Regions from separate parts of the Homo sapiens genome. Here region 2 is linked to region 1. The links are contacts of gene promoters, found by promoter capture Hi-C in blood cells and fetal thymus (Javierre and others, 2016). All regions are on one chromosome and are shown on one strand. Each heading gives the region's core, a stretch centred on a gene start or on the middle of the fragment in contact. The rest is flanking DNA. Distances are from core to core; before and after follow the strand shown. Region 1 holds the start of HJV (hemojuvelin BMP co-receptor). Region 2 overlaps RNF115 (ring finger protein 115).

Region 1 (2,776 bases), core at 174-2,673:
TGTAAGTGACTGAAAAAAGAAATTTGGCTGGACATGGAGAGAGAGAAGAATTGAAGATTGGTAAGGATAATGTGGAGTGAATCTGGGGAGATCAAGAAAAGGATGAACAGACTGGAATTTGGGGAGATTGGAGTTCCTCAAACTATAAGTGTGGCAGTTAAGCCTCTTTGCCCTGTTCCTGTGGCCACTTTTAGGGCCCTTGTGCAATACCCCTAGGTGGGGGTGGAGGGAAGGTTGAGTGAACTCAAGGGGGCAGAGTCCACTGTATTGCTCCATTCTGAGCTACCAAACAGCAGGTATGTCAAAGATGGAGGAATCATGGGGCTAGATCAGATACCAGTAATCCTAGTGGGTACCCTAGTAAAATTAGGACCTGAAAATATTTCAGAAACATACTTCTTATTTGTCCCTCTCCATTAGGAGGAGATGCCCTCTAGGAGTCATACATTTCTTTTCCTCCTTTGTGTCAGAACACAAGAAGGATTAAGGGTGGCATACCCATCCCGTCTAGAATATCAGTATTCAAATGAAAAGGAAACCAATCTCTTTTCATCAGCTCTAGAGAGCTGCAATTTTAATCTCCCTCTCTCATGGAATAATGGGATGCAAACCAAACATGCAAATCAATATTTGTTTTTTCTAAGTCAACAGTTCTTGTATTTTCCCAAATATCACTCCTTCCATTAATCTCTTCTTTTCAAATTCTGAAGTTCTCAGTCTTTTATGATGACAGGAGTTGGAGAGGGGCTAAATCCCTCCTGCCTAACTCCCCTATCTTATGGGTAAGGATATGATTGGGGGAAGAGTCCTGCAAGAGGGAGAATAGAATGGAGGGACTAGAGTTGTGGGGAGAAATCATTTACAGGGAGCAGCCCCCATGCTTGGAATCTCAATGTGAAGGGCATTGCTAAGTGGGGGCAGGATAGAAGGGTATCAGTGACTCATCATCTGAGGTCATATTTGGCCTTGGTAAGAAAACTACAGAATAGAGGACGTAGGGAACTCCTTCTAAAACTTCATCAGGAGTCTTGAGGTAATAAGGTAAAGAGAGGGCTAAGACTGCCAGAGGAGAGACAGAGAATTAAACTTCAAAAAGCTAGAGGCCAGAGGCCAGAAAGAAATAAGACAGAAAGAGAAATGGAGATTGGGGCACCTTGGTAGGGAGAGATCCCAGCATTTGGACGAGAGACATCCAAGTAGGTGTTTGTAATTTTATAAAAGTCTAACTTCAATATAAAAGCTTATTAAAGGAATTGCAATTTCATTTTGACTTACTGTTTCCAGAGGTCAAACATTACTCTGCTATCCAATTCTCCAGCCATGATTCCCTACTCTGTGGGTCAGCTCCAGCCAGGGGGTCCTCCGTGTCTCCCCCAGGTCCCCAGGCCGGCTGCTGTCTCACTGAGGTCAGGGAACCAGAGAAGGTTTGGTATGGGGGGAAGGGGGAGTATATGGCTGGCCAGAGTACTGGACAGCTGAGCAGGGAGGGAGGTGGCTACTGAGTTGACGGTTTTAAAAATAGCTAAGTCCAAAATTCCAGGAACGTTGGTGGGGGTAGGGTGTGGGAGTTGGGGGAGTGGGGAGGGTTAGAGGATTAGAAAGAATATGGAGTATTGAGTGCCAAGTCAGGGAGGGAGGAGAGAAATATGACAGACAAGTTGGATATCCAATTCCAGCTTGTGTGACTCTGTGGTCACTGCCTACTCCAGGCAGCCCTCCAGCATTTTCAATAATGTTGAGCTCCTGGCCTTTAAAAATTACAGTGGGCAATTGGATACCTTTCATTTACCATGTTCATCCCTGCTATGCTGAATATTACATTTAGGTTCTACAGATAGTATCTAGGAGGTAGCTGACTTTGAATAAGATCCATAGCAGAGGTAGTTCATAGCCCCTCTCCTATCTTTGCAGAGTATTTCAGAAGGACGAAAAAAGCCAGCTGTCCAGAGAAGAAATCTGAGCTGTGAGTTGCTTAGGATGAGGGTTTGTTCAGTCTATCCAGCTCAGATCCTTGCAGCTGTCTATCCTCCTACCTACTCCATTTTCATTACTTTAGTTTGTACAGCAATTCATCTTCCTCTCCCTCATGAATACACAAAAAATAAAGGCTCCCGATTTGCTTGGAGAGAAGGCTAACAAAGGCAAAGAGGTGAAGAAAGAATGGAAATAGAATTCTTCTAAAGAAAGAGTTGGAGAAATAGAAAAAGATTCAAAAATATACTTTTCCTTCCTTCCTTCCTTCCTTCCTTCCTTCCTTCCTTCCTTCCTTCACTCCCTCCCTCCCTCCCTCCCTCCTTCCTTCCTTCCTTCCGAGATGAGGTCTCACTATGTTGACCAGGCTGGTCTTGAACTCCTTGCCTCAATGAATCCTTCCATCTCAGCCTCTCAGAGTGCTGGGATTACAAGTGTGAACCAACATGCCTAGCCTCAGAAAGATACTTTTATGGAATAACATAATCTTGTGACCATAAATATTGCAAAATCTCAGCACTTTGGGAGCTGAGGCAGGAGGGTCACTTGAGCGCAGGAGTTTGAGGCTGCAGTGAGCTATGATAACGCCATTGCACTCCAGCCTGGGCAACAGTGAGACCCGCCCCCCCACCCCCCTTAAAAAAGAAAAGAGATACTGCAACCAAGGGATTTAGCCATGTCATGTTTTTGCAGCCATAGGTATATCTGAGATCATCATCTTTTAGTACTTGCCAAGTGAAATTAACAGAAGGACCGATTCCAAATACGGTCACTGTATTAGGGTTCTCTAGAGGAACAGAACTAA
Region 2 (2,776 bases), core at 157-2,656, 210 kb before region 1:
ATGCGCCACCATACCTGGCTAATTTTGTATTTTTAGTACAGACGGGGTTTCACCATGTTGATCAGGTTGGTCTTGAACTCCTGACCTCGAGTGATCTGCCTGCCTCGGCCTCCCAAAGTGCTGGGATTACAGGCATGAGCCACTGCACCCAGCCTGTTTTCAAGGTTTTTATGAACACTGGTACCTCCATCATTTTCAACAGGTACAAAAAGCAGAAAGTGGCAAGAAGAAAAAGCCTACAGTTAAGTTTCCTTCATTCAACAAATACTAATTGAGTATCTACTATGTACCAAGGCACTGTCCTAACACTTATGGAAAAGAAAACATCAATAATAAGAGTGGTGAGGAAATAAGAAATTTAAAGACATATAGGAATTGTCTAAAGGCCAAGTAAATCTTTGTCTTTTAGACTAAAAGGCTGTGCTAAAGTAGTGAATAATAAGCAAGAAAAAAAAAAGAAGAGTGAATGATAAAACAGAAAAATGTTTTCCTGTATGACTAGAGGTCATTCTTAATGAGGACAACACAATCATCTAGGGGATAGTTGGGACATCTATGGAAGTGCTTTGGTTGTCACAGCAGTTAAGAAGTGCTTCTCACTATTCACAATAGCAAAGACATGGAATAAACCCAAATGCCCATCAGTGAGAGACTAGATAAAGAAAATGTGGTACATATACACCATGGAATACCATTCAGCCATAAAAAGGACGAGTGATTACTTTGCAGGGATGTGGATGGAGCTGGAAGCCGTTATCCTCAGCAAACTAACATAGGAACAGAAAACCACACATCACACGTTCTCATTTGTAAGTAGGGGCTAAATGAGGAGGACACATGGTGGGGAACAACACACACTGGGGCCTGTTGAGGGAGCCTCAGGAAGAATATCTAATGGATGCTGGGCTTAATAGCTACGTGATGAGTTGATCTGTGCAGCCAACCACCATGGCACAGGTTTGCCTACATAACAAAACCTGCACATCCTGCACATGTGCCCCGGGACTTAAAATAAAAGTTGCAGAAAAAAAAAAAAGTGTTACTGACATTCAATTGGCAGAGGCCAGGAAAGCATAGGCAAGTCCAGCACAAAGAAAAAATGTCTTTATTCTCAAACTTCCTTATGAATAGTTAACTGGATTTTTAAAATCTGTATAATTACCAAAGCCTAGAACCTAATTACATTCTACGTATAAGCACCAAGTCCTTCTGCATAATTTTATTTATTTATTTATTTTTTTTTTGAGACAGGGTCTCACTCTGTCACCCAGGCTGGAGTGCAGCGGTGTGATCACGGTTCACTACAGCCTTGACCTCTTGGGCTCAGGTAATCCTCCCACCTCAGCCTCCCAGGTAGCTGGGACTTCAGGCACGTGCCACCAAGCCCGGCTAATTTTTAAAAAAATTTTTTGTAGAGACAGGGTTTTACCATGTTGCCCAGGCTGGTCTCCAACTCCTGGGCTCAAGTGATCCAACCGCCTTGGTATCCCAAAGTGCTGGGATTACAGGCGTAAGCCACCGTGCCCAGTCCATAATTTTAATATGCACTAAATGTCCAGAAAAGCAACTGCTGAATAAAGTAAGAGAAAACTGTACTTTGGGGCAGATGCAGTGGCTCACGTTTGTAATCTCAGCACTTTGGGAGGCCAAGGAGGAGGACAGCTTGAGCCTAACTCAAAACCAGCCTGGGCAACTAAGTGAGACCCCATCACTACCAAAAAAAAAAAAAAAAAAAAGAAAAAAGAAGAAGAAGAAAGAAGTTGTACTTGAGTTTTATTTGTACATTTGCAAAGAATTGTTCACTGTACTGGTTTGCTTCTCCTGGTATTTAAGTTGCAAATACCCTTATAGCAGTCTACTCAGGTAGCTGTCATGTCAAGCTAATCTGTCAGAAATATTTTCTATTTATCCTTTATCTTACTGCAAGATAATTTTTTTAATTATATATGTAGGGCCGGGTGTGGTGGCTCACGCCTATAACCCCAGCACTTTGGGAGGCCGAGGTGGGCGCACTTGAGGCCAGGAGTTCGAGACCAGCCTGGCCAACATGGTGAAACCCTGTCTCTACAAAGAATAAATAATAATACAAAAAAATTAGCCAGGTGTGGTGATGCACGCTTGTAATCTCAGCTACTTGGAAGGCTGAGGCACGAGCATCGCTTGAAGCACCCAGGAGGCAGAGGATACAGTGAGCCAAGATCACGCCACTGCACTGCAGCCTGGTTGACAGAGATTCTGTCTCACAAAAAAAAAAAAAAAAAAAAAAAAAATATATATATATATATATATATATACACACACACACATATATGTAGAAAAGCTGTATTACCTGTGGATTTCATTTCACTAAAGAGAGTATTTCAAAATACTTATAAGAAGAGGGCACTGAATCTGAGAGGTCTGAGAATTAACGGGCTAGAAGATCAGCATCACTGTAGGATACCTGCAGGTCTCAGTTAATCCAGCAAAAGGTAAGAAAGAGCATGTAACTATAATTGTTTTTTCTTTTGAGAATGTAAATTCTAAGCATGGTGAAAGGTAAGCAAAATGAAACTTCTGGAAGATGGTACTATGGGTTAAAAGTCTATTCAAATCTGTACAACATCAAAGTGAGTGGCAAGGAGGTAAACATTACCTTGTCTACTAAGAAGTTTCCTGTGACACTTGTTCAAATTATCAAGGAGAGAGATTAATCTGTCTTAACAGATTTTCAAGGAAGACAAAACTAACTGGTCTGGCCAGGCGTGGTGGCTAACACCTGTAATCCCAGCACTTT

What was found. The method cuts DNA at HindIII sites, captures the fragments that hold promoters and counts their contacts. A CHiCAGO score of 5 or more calls a contact.
Region 2: a contact is called between a fragment that was not itself captured here and the fragment with the promoter of HJV in region 1, in 1 of 17 cell types (activated CD4 T cells). The highest score is 5.2, in activated CD4 T cells.

Annotation. Positions count from the first base shown.
Region 1 is chr1:146,020,312-146,023,087 of GRCh38, forward strand. HJV (hemojuvelin BMP co-receptor) reads right to left here and starts at 1,424. Exons shown (of 4, transcript NM_213653.4): 1 at 1,276-1,424; 2 at 1-9. The HindIII fragment of the contact is 1,771 bases long and covers 1,243-2,776 here.
Region 2 is chr1:145,809,640-145,812,415 of GRCh38, forward strand. The region is part of intron 1 of RNF115 (ring finger protein 115); the gene reads right to left. Among named protein-coding and RNA genes, the nearest start is that of RNF115, 13 kb to the right of the region's middle. The HindIII fragment of the contact is 4,239 bases long and covers 1-2,776 here.